2 separate regions of the Homo sapiens genome follow, and region 2 is linked to region 1. The links are contacts of gene promoters, found by promoter capture Hi-C in blood cells and fetal thymus (Javierre and others, 2016). All regions are on one chromosome and are shown on one strand. The core of a region is centred on a gene start or on the middle of the fragment in contact, and the rest is flanking DNA. Distances in the headings are between cores, read along the strand shown. Region 1 holds the start of ANOS1 (anosmin 1). Region 2 overlaps GPR143 (G protein-coupled receptor 143).

Region 1 (5,397 bases), core at 1,982-4,481:
GGGTCCTACCCCTTTATCCATCATTTCCTCAGCATACTCTTAGGGTTCTCCTCCCCTGTGGTTGGCTTTCATGAACTTAGATTGTGGCTTACCTGGTAATGTCAAAAGTCAGAGAACTTCCATGTTTCAGTTTGCAAGGTGAGCTGCATAATAAGTTGGGCATACATGGGCAGAATGAAAACAAAACAAAACAAAAAAACACCGAAATTTGACTGTTATTCTGACTTTACTAGAATGCTTTCCTTTTAAAAGTTACTTTAAGCTGCAATTAAAGTAAATAATATGAGAAAGGCCTGCGTAATCACAGAGGATGTCTGTGATTATTCTAAAGGAAGAAAGCAATATAACTGCAAATATTATTTTAACATATTTATAATAAGGTGGCTCTATATGTTTAAAACCAAGTTTTCTGTTAAACTGACTGTTCTCCTTTGTGGTTTATTACAAAACGCATTTATTCATAGAAATGAATATGCTATGGAACCCATATAAGTAGCACACACACTGCTTTTTAAAAAAAAAAAAAAACGGCAACCCCTGTGAACATCCAAAGGCTGTTTTTAAAAGCTCAGCATGCTTGTCCTTGTGATTTCACTTTCTGGAATATGCATTTCATGATATGACATGCAAAATTATAAATCAAAGTTACCTAAGAAAATGTCGGTGTACATAATATCTTTGCCTTCACCAAGACCACATATTTGCTTAACTTTAAAATTCCAAACAGGCCAGGCACGGTGGCCCACGCCTGTAATCCCAGCACTTTGGGAGGCTGAGGCAGGCAGATCACGAGGTCAGGAGATCGAGACCATCCTGGCTAACACGGTGAAACCCCGTCTCCACTAAAAATACAAAAAATTAGTTGGGCGTGGTGGCGGGCGCCTGTAGTCCCAGCAACTCGGGAGGCTGAGGCAGGAGAATGGCGTGAACCCGGGAGGCGGAGGTTGCAGTGAGCCGAGATTGCACCACTGCACTCCAGTCTGGGTGACAGTGAGACTCCGTCTCAAAACAAAACAAAACAACTCCAAACAAACACTAGGAAAGGATCCCCTACAGCTTTTGGAAATGTTTTTAGTAATTCACAAATGAAAGTGACAACATTTAGAAGACAATCTCGGTATTCAGACATCATTATTTATTGACACTTGGCTTTATACACATGCCTGCTTGGGGTCATTATAGTTAGCTTCTTTACTCTTCGTTAATATTATGTTTAACATACTTAAAAAATATTTCCATTTGCAATTCTGAGCAATTTTAAAACAAATCATTGAAGTCGTGTAAGCTTATGCCAAAATTACTAGGTTTCCAGCCCAAGTAAAGAGTGGCCCCAACCTTTTTGGCACCAGGGACTGGTTTCATGGAAGACAATTTTTCCATGGACCTGGGGGTAGCAAGTGATGGCTTGGGGATGAAACTGCTCCATCTCAGATCGACATTAGATTCTCATAAGGAGTGCGCTACCTAGACATCTCGCATGCATAGTTCACTATAGGACTGAAGCTCCTATCAGAATCTAATGCTGCCACTGATTTCTCACCTGAGGCACAGCTCAGGCAGTAATGTTCCCTGGCCTGCCGCGGCCCAGTTCCTAACAGGCCACTGTCATTGTGAAGAGTTTCAGGATGGTGATGGCAGAACAGGCCTTCTAAGAGTGCGACTGTACCATTGTACAGCTTGCATGTCCATGAAACTGGCTTTGCCTATAGAACCTTTTGAACAAGATGACCCTGATTTTCTAATTCGCTGAGAAACACACCAAGGCCAATTAATTTGACTGGCCTTTCTGATTTAAGCTATGTGAAGAAATACACATGTAAGATGATGTATTTGAAAAGCACTCATAATAGGATAGCTGCAGATGGCTGTCATTGCAATTTGTTAACAGGCAGATCTCAAAATTGCAGAGTGGAACCTGTGTATAAGAATAGGGAAAAGGGTGGGAAATTGCAAAACAACTATATAGGCTTTGTGCAAAGAGGATTCCAGCCTTCTGATGTAGCTTTGAGTAGAGCGAGTGCATCTAGATACCCTGACTGTGCTTAGCTGGGTGCTTATAGAGATCCCGTTTTCGAAGGTGAAAGTGCAATTGGGTAGGAGAGGGTGGAGATGTCAGAGCAAAGGAACAGCAGTCAGTTGTTGTCCATTCGAATAGGAGTGTGCCTGGGTCTTTTTTCTCTGGGCTCTCCTACCTGCAAGGGGACTGTCACTTCCTGATGGGGCTCAGGGGAGTGTAGAGCTTTGTTACAAGTTGTGTCTTATCAATGCCTCCTGTCTTTCTGTGGCAGGATCCTGGCTGGGGAGGGAGAATTTGTGTGCTGAGAGAACACTAGACAAAAACGACAGGAGAGGACGGAGCAGCCATTCCAAAGCTAAAAAGCCTGAGTCAAGAGGCTCGGGCAAATCGTGGGGAAAGAAAGAGATTAAGACGCAAGTCTATTTAGAATAAATCACTCACTTTGGGGCGTGCAAGGCTTACTAGAAAAACAGACACCTGAGGAAACAAGGCGTGTGGACCTAAAGGTGGTTAGCTATGCACTGAGACTGTCTCCAGGGAAAACAGTGCGGGAGGGAGGGAGGGAGGGATGCGGGAAGGACGGAAGAAATGCAAGAGGGAGAGAAGGAGGAATTTGTCTCCGGGACACTGTAGGGCAAATGTCCACGCTCCCCTCCCCGTCTGTCTTACTGCCATTTGTTTTCTTCACTTCTTTCCACTACCTGGGCAAAGGAAATTCGAATATGTGAAAGCGTGGGAAAAGCCTGGACCCAGGGGAGGTCGGGGAGAAAGCAAGCCACTTAGGGGCGCGGGGTCAATCCCCAGGCAGGTGGGACGCCCCTGGGGGTCCTGAGGCCTCTTCCCTCCTGCTGAAGGGAGCACCCCTCCTGGCAGGCCTGGACCTGCTCACACCGACGTTTACCTGGACGGAGGGGGAAGGTGGGAGGGGCAGGAAGCGGTTGGTGCGAACGGGAGAGGCGCCTGCGTGGGAGCTGGGCCCCTCGAGACCTGCGCGGCGTGGAAAGCCGCTCGGCGTCGCCCTCCCCCGGAGCGCCCGGGCTCGCAGCTGACGAGACCGGCCCATGGGCCCTGCGCCCGGCCCCCCTGTCACTCACACGCCTTCCAGCCAATGGTGCGGCCTCCTGTCCCCCTCACCCCACCCCTCGAGGGCGAGCTGGGAGGGAGGTCGGCGAGGAGGGTCCGGCCGGAGTTGAAGGATTGAACTTTCCGGCTCAGTCGCGGCGTCTGCCTGGTCCTCAGCAGTGCAGCCCCGGCGCGGAGCAGGGAGCCTCGGCCCGCGCCCGGCGCCCTCGCCCTCGCCCTCGACCCGCAGCCATGGTGCCCGGGGTGCCCGGCGCGGTCCTGACCCTCTGCCTCTGGCTGGCGGCCTCCAGCGGCTGCCTGGCGGCCGGCCCCGGCGCGGCTGCTGCGCGGCGGCTGGACGAGTCGCTGTCTGCCGGGAGCGTCCAGCGCGCTCGCTGCGCCTCCAGGTGCCTGAGCCTGCAGATCACTCGCATCTCCGCCTTCTTCCAGCACTTCCAGGTACGGGGAGGCCCCCGCCCGGGTTCTTTCTGGGGCTGCGGCCGCGGCGTGGGCGCACCGGGGCGCGCGCCTCCCAGCCTGGGCTCGCAAAGTTCTCGGCCAGCGCCGCCGGCTGATCCTGGCTTCCCCTGGGCGTGGATCTTACAGTCGGGGTGCTGGAACTCTCCTTTCCAGCCTCTTCCCGGCTCCTGAAAAGAAAAAGAAGCCCGAGACATCTTGCCCCAACTCCCTCCTTCCCAGCAGGAAACCAAAGGCGATTTCCCTGGGGAGGGAGAGTCGTGGATGCTGGGAGTGGGTGTGTGGATGTGGCGGTTTCCCGGGAATTGGAGTGCGCGAGACTCCGGGCGGGCGGCGACTCCCGCAAAGTCCCAGGCGCTCCGGGGCACTGGGAGGGAGTCTGGGAGGCGCGTCCGGCTGCGCCTGGGGACCTCACCTCGAGCCCCAGCCCCGCAGGTGCCCGCGGGCCGACACTTTGTCTCTTTTGAAAGATGGTTTTCACTCTCTGAGGGCTCAGAGCTCGCTGCCCACCCTTGGAGCCCCAGCCAGGGTACTTGTGCCAAGTCGTGTTCCAGGGTGCGTGTATGCGCGTGTTGGGGGTGCGAGTGGCTGTGCGCGCCTCAATTCGGAACCCCAAAGATTCAAGGTCTTGCCCTGGACTAGCGTAGAGCGTCAGGGAAGAAGTGCCGGGGACAGGGGATTTGGCGGGGCCGTATTCGGATACTCCTCAACGAGTCCCGGGGGAACCGTCCCCCAAACCCCGAACGTAGGTTCTTTCAGCCTGAGGGTGGGGAGTATGTGTGTGTGCGCGCGCGCTTGTGTGGGAGGCTCCGGGAGCCGCGCGCTTGGCTCCAGCGGGTTGCCGGGACTCTGCCCTGTGGCGCGGACCCCCGCGGGACTTGCGCGAGGCTCCGGGTGCGGGTGGGCGCACGAGAGCAGGTTCCGGACTCAGCGCGAGCGAGTGCAGCTGCTGCCTGTACCAGCCCTGTCGAGCGTGCGAGCTCTGAAATCCTCCGCTTATTTTTCTCTTCTCTCATCCTTCTCTCCTTCTTCTTCTCGCCTCTATCCCTAGGTGCCCACCTGTTCCAAGTTCCCAATTTCTCGCTTCAGGGAAACTCTGGAGGGACCAAAAGGAGAAATGGGGGCTGGGGGGAGGGGTTCCCCTGGCTGGGCGGGAACTGGAAGCCAAACCCTTGGCTCTTAAACTGGGCGCCCCTCCTGCCAGAGCTGGGTCAAGGGGTGGGGGGGGGGGTCCCCCTAGAGGCCCTGGGAATTAAGCTGCCAGAGGAGGCCATATTAATAAGGGTGGAATGTGGAAGTGATTCCCCTTACCCTCGGGGATGATCTTGAACCGGCTGGTGAAGCTGGCGCGTTCGCGAGTGTGCAGTTGAGTTTGTTCTAAGTCGTAGAAGCAGCGTCTCGTGGGTGTCAGAGAAATGGGCACGCTCTGTAGTCCTTCTGCGTCTTCAGGGAATGGAAGACCCAGTGCTCACCTCCTGTGGTGAAATTACCCAGACATCCTGGACAGAGCCAGGAGAGGGCCGATCCCCAGGCACCTGGTTTCCAGCCCTCCGAGTCCTACCCTGAAAGTCACTCTCCTAAGATGCCACACTATTGTTTGAAACAACAGAAAACAAAACAAAACGGAGCAGCCTATTCCCAGGGAGAAAGAGTACCTTTTTTTTTTCTTTTTCTTGAATTGTCAGTGCTGTAATTTATTTGTTTTACAGTTTCAGTGGCTAAAGCACCAGCTTAGATGAAGCCAGTTCCCGTGAAAGGCTTTTCTTGTGGTCTCCTTGGCATGATTTCTCTTTGGAAGAAAAACTGCTGACAGAATGCACATTGCTAGACAATCCTGATTA
Region 2 (5,397 bases), core at 868-3,367, 1.0 Mb before region 1:
CCTCCACCTTCTGGGCTCAAGCAATCCTCCCACCTGAGTCTCCTGAGTAGCTGGGACTACAGGTGCACACCACCATGCCTAGTTTATTTTATTTTTTAGTGTTTGGAGACACGAGGTCCCATTATGTTGCCCAGGCTAGTCTCAAGTGGTCCTCCTGCATCGGCCTCCCAAAGTGCTGGGATAATAGGCTTGAGCCACTGCACCTGGTCCCTTGGCTTTTTAAAAAATTTCAGATATAATTAACGTACCATAAAGGTCACCCCTTTAAATGGCACATTTCAGTGGTTGTGCACACGTCACCACTATCTAAGTCAGAACATGTTCATCGTTGCAGAAAGAAACCCTGTGCCCCCAGGGAGTCATTTCCCTTCTCTTCTCCCCAGCCCCTGGCAACCATGAATCTCCTTTCTGTCTCTATGGCTTTGCTGTTCCAGACCTTACATGGAAAGGGCATTGTGTAATATTCGTCCTGTTGTGTCTGGTTTCTTGTACTTCGGATAGTGTTTTCTAGATTCGCCCATGTTGTAGCAGGTGTCAGAACTTCATTCTTTTTATGGATTGATAATATTTCGTTGTATGGATACACCTATTCTTTGTTTTATTTATTTATTTTTGAGACAGGGTCTCACTCTGTTGTCCAGGCTGAAGTGCAGTGGAATGAACATGGCTCACTGCAGCCTTGATCTCCTGGGCTCAAGCTATCTTTCCACCTCAGCCTCCTGAGTAGCTAGGACAACAAGCAGGTGCCAACACACCCTGCTAATTTTCTTTGGTTTTGTGTGTGTGTTTTTAAAATTTATTTTATAGAGCTGGGGTCTCCCTATGTTGCCCAGATTGGTCTTAAACTCTTGTAAATGATCCTCCCACCTTGGCCTCCCAAAGTGCTAGGATTATAGGCCTGAGCCACTGCACCTGGCCCACTCTTATTCTGTTAATAACTACTTATGACTGCCCCAAACTCTACCAGGCTGTGTACTAGGAGCTGAGTGGGGTGGAGATACTGGAGATGTGTAAACCTGGCCCTCAAGGATCTCACAGTCTATTGGAGAAAATTAAAATATTTTAAAAAATCATTCTATTCTAACAATAGAACACTCAATGGAAATACCAATTGGAGAAAACACTGGAGGAAAAGGAAAGAACAAAAGGAAAGCCTTTTGAGAAAAATGAGAAATACAATCGGTATTTTTTTATTGTGGGAAGAATTCCTGTAAAAATGGCAGCTGCCAATTTAGAACTCCAAGTGACATATTATTAGGTAACATCTGTCAGGGTTTTTGAGGATAGAGCTTGAAGCATAGAGTGAGTTTTCAGAATTAACAACAAACATCTGCAAAAGTATAAAGTGGCCTGGCCTGGTAGTATGAACCTGTATCCCCAGCTACTCAGGAGGCTGAGGAAGGAGGATCGTTTGAGGCCAGGAGTTGGAGTCCAGACTGGGCAACATAGTGAGACCCCATCTCTTTAAAAAAAAGTATAAAGTGGCGGTGCTACTGAGGTGGTGGTTAGGGTCATAAGTTTACATCTAGTCACCCTTTGAATATCTTAAAATTGCCCATAACATGCAGTCATCACCATTTTGTATGGTAACCCTATGCAGGAATTTGCATACATTAATCTAAAAAGAATTGAAAAGGCTTTTATTCAGAAATTAATTTGCTGCCTAGGACACCTCACATTTTTTAATATTTCCACATCGGACTTTTGGCTCTCATCACCATTGTATTGTTTGGGGACAATTTTAGGATCCCTTCTAAATCTTTCCTGGTCGGTATGTCTCTGGGGCCACTTGCCTGTCACCCCAGAATGTGCTTCCCTTCTGTCAGTGGCGGGGGAAACGCAGGTGTCATTCCGATTTTCCTACCAGAGCTTTACCAGCTTGCAGGCAGCAGGATCCCTGGGACTATGTAAATCCTCACCTACTCTCCCTGCCATACCTCCCCAGCCCCTCACTAAGTAGAGGTGAATTTGGGTAAGTTAAGTGTGCATCGGATACTACTTCTGTGCGTAAAGTCAAGGAAAACCCCTTACCAGGGCTGCTTTCCTATTGGCTGCACCTGATTACTACGATGGCAGATACAGAAAAAACTTAGCCATGGGCTTCTCCCTATGTAGACAGTGGATATAAAGCTCAACTTGTTCATCATACCCTTCAGACCCTACTGCTTCGGGTTTCACTACAAGACCAATAGGCTGGCATGGAGCTTTATTAAGTATCTGATATGGTGTCTGGAACTTACTAGGTACTTCACACAAGTTAACTGAATTTTGTCTTAAGCAAATATTCAACACCATTTTAGCCGGGATGGGTGAGTGTTCCTGAGAAGTATAATTTGTGAAACTCCCAAGTAAGTAAGGACAATACTGTTTTTTTTTTTAAACCTGTGAAGGGTTAAAGGAACACAGGCAATGCAGGACTAAGTTGGTTTTGGAACACTGGTGAGAGTTCCTGGAGAAGGTGATGTGCGGGCTGGGTCTTAGATGATAGAACAGCATAGGCAAAGAGGAGACAGAAAATCTAGATGAGGAAGACGCGGTGTTGAGAGTTAGCATAGAAAGTCTGCGTCTTGTTTGGGGACGGTTGTGGCTCAGCGTGGTATGGAGGCGTTGGGGGAAGCTGGAGAAGTGGTGAAGGGTTTATAAAGATTCTGCTAGGGCGTTTGGGCTTTATCCGGTGGCCAGCGAAAGGCCAGTTAAGGTTTTTAAGTGGAGAGACACTGCAATTTGCTTGTAGGACCAGCCCAGTGCATGGGCGTGGAAGAAAACACGTAATGCATCGCGTTTTGTGATTGTGGCAGCAGTTTCCATTGAGGGGATCTGTGTCTCCGCTTAGGGAGGCGGAGAGCCGCTGGATGGAGCTCGGTTCCACGCCCCGTCACCATTGTGCCTCCTTGCTGAACACTCTCTGCTCATCAAGTCGAGGTGTTGGGATCTGGGACAATCCTGAAGAGAGTCATTACTAGGGGAGGATTGTGCACCTGAACCGCTTTTGACTCCCTAGATGTGCAGGCACCCAACTCCCGGGCCTGCGCTGGCTCTCAGGAGACCCAGCCCCTTGGTACCTCCCGGTTTCCCTCCAGGGAGCGAGCCAGGGGGGCATGGCCTGGCAGGAGGGGTGGGGACTGGGTGGAGCTTATAGAGCCTGGCCGGGGCTGTGTTTTGGGGTAGGGCCTGGTGAGAGCGAAGGGGCAGAGTCTGGCAGGAGGGATGTGGCTACTAAGAGCAGGGCATTTCTGATGGGAGCAGGAGTATAGATCTTTCCTGGAAGACGAGTGTGCTAGTACACAAACTTGCAAGATTTAAGGATCATCCCGGGGAGAAGCCCAGGCCGGTGAGGCTGAGGCTTAGGGCTTGTTGGGAGTGGAGGGGTCGTGGTTAGGATAGAACAGAGGGGCTGTGTTCCCACACAGGTGGGGTGAGGCCCATTCAGAGCCCAGAAACATGGCCAGAAAGGAGCGTAGCTGTATCTCCCACAATGCCTTTTATCTCCCCCAATTCCATATGACACCCACCCCGCCATTCTTGGTTTGACCATCAATCCTCTCTACTCTCCACAATTCTGTTTCTCCCATAATTCTCTGTCTCTCCCACAATTCCGTGTATCTCCCACAATACCCTGTATTTTCCCCGATTCTGTATTTCTCCCAGAGTTCCATGGCTCTCCCATAATTTGGCATTCTTCCCCACAGTCCCCTGTCTCTCCCACAATTCTTTTTTCTCTCATAATTCCCTATTTCTCTCACAATAACATTCTCCTAACAATTGTTTTCTCCCACAATTCTCCATTCTATTTTTTCTTGAAAATCTGTTTTCTTCTATAATCTATTTTATTCTTCTTCTTTTTTTTTTTTTTTTTGAGACAGAGTTTCGCTGTTGTTGCCCAGACTGGAGTGCAATGGCGCGATCTAAGCTCACCACAACCTCTGCCTCCTGGGTTCAAATGATTCTCCTGCCTCAGCCTCCTGAGTAGCTGGGATTATAGGCACCCACCACTACGCCCAGCTAATTTTTGTATTTTTAGTAGAGACGGAGTTTCACCAGGTTGGCCAGGCTGGTCTGGAACTCCTGACTTTGTGATCTGCCCGCCTCGGCCTCCCAAAGTGTTGGGATTACAGGCGTGAGCCACTGCATCAGGCCTCTTCTATAATCTATTTTCTACCACAATCTGTCTCTCCTACAGTTCTCCATTCTCCACTCTAATTTGTTCTCTCCCACAAGTCTCCATTCTCTACCACAATTCCCTGCCTGTCCCTCAATTCCTCTTCTTTCCCATAATTCTCCATTCTTCCCAATAATCCTTTCTTTTTTTCCACAGTTCTCTTTCTCACACTACCTTGAGTCCCCCACAATCCCAATCTTTCCCACAATTCCTTGTTTCTCCCACAATCCCTTTTTACAATTTTTCATAATGCCGTGAATCTTCCATAATACCTGGAATCTCGCACAAGCCTTGTCTTTCCCACAATTCTGTTACACAGTACCTTGAGTCTCCCACAATCCCCATCTTTCCCACAATTACTATTTTCTCCCACAATATGGCTTCATGGTTTTCCATAAATGCCTTGCATCTCCCATAATACCTGGAATCTCCCACAAGCCTTGTCTTTCCCGCAATTCTGTGTTTCTCCCATAGTACCTTCAGTCTCCCACAACCTCCATCTTTCCCATGATTCCTTTTTTCTCCCACAATACGGCTTCACAATTTTCTATAATGCCTTGCATTTCCCATAATACCTTGCGTCTCCCACAATTCCTTTCGTCTGCCACAATCCTTGCCTTTCTCCAGCAATTTCCTGTTTCTTTCTCCCACAATTTCTTTCTCCCACAATCCCCATCTTTCCCACGATTCCTTTTTTCTCCCACGATAAAGCTTCAGAATTTTCCATAATGCCTTGTGTCTCCCATGATATCTTGAGTCTCCCATAATTCCTTTTGTCTCCCACAATCCTTGTCTTTCTCCAGGAATTTCCTGTTTCTCCCACTGTACCATATTTCTCTAACAATTTCTTCTTTCCCACTCGTCTCTTCTTTCTCTCAGAATTTGCCATTCTTTTTTTTTTTTTTTTTTTTTGAGATGGAGTTTCATTCACTCTGTCGCCAAGGCTGAGTGCAGCGGCACGATCTCGGCTCACTGCAACCTCCACCTCTTGGGCTCAAGTGATTCTTGTGCCTCAGCCTCCGGAGTAGCTGGGACTACAGGTGCACACCACCATGCCTGGCTAATTTTTGTATTTTTAGTAGAGATGGGGTTTCACCATGTTGGCCAGGCTAGTTTCAAACTCCCGACCTCAAGTGATCTGCCCACTTCGGCTTCCCAAAGTGCTGGGATTATAGGTGTGAGTCACCGTGCCCAGCCAATTCTCCATTTTTCTATTTCAGAAATCTTTCTTTTGTAAT

The links. The method cuts DNA at HindIII sites, captures the fragments that hold promoters and counts their contacts. A CHiCAGO score of 5 or more calls a contact.
Region 2: a fragment that was not itself captured here is called in contact with the fragment with the promoter of ANOS1 in region 1 in 5 of 17 cell types (naive B cells, total B cells, non-activated CD4 T cells and 2 more); the score reaches 10.0 in naive B cells.

What each region holds. Positions count from the first base shown.
Region 1 is chrX:8,729,971-8,735,367 of GRCh38, reverse strand. It overlaps ANOS1 (anosmin 1), which reads left to right and starts at 3,231. Exons shown (of 14, transcript NM_000216.4): 1 at 3,231-3,538. The coding sequence starts at 3,332. The HindIII fragment of the contact is 4,315 bases long and covers 1,288-5,397 here.
Region 2 is chrX:9,732,540-9,737,936 of GRCh38, reverse strand. All of the region lies in intron 8 of GPR143 (G protein-coupled receptor 143), which reads left to right. LOC105373126 (a long non-coding RNA gene) reads right to left here and starts at 837. Exons shown (of 2, transcript XR_950507.2): 1 at 1-837. The HindIII fragment of the contact is 5,511 bases long and covers 1-4,872 here.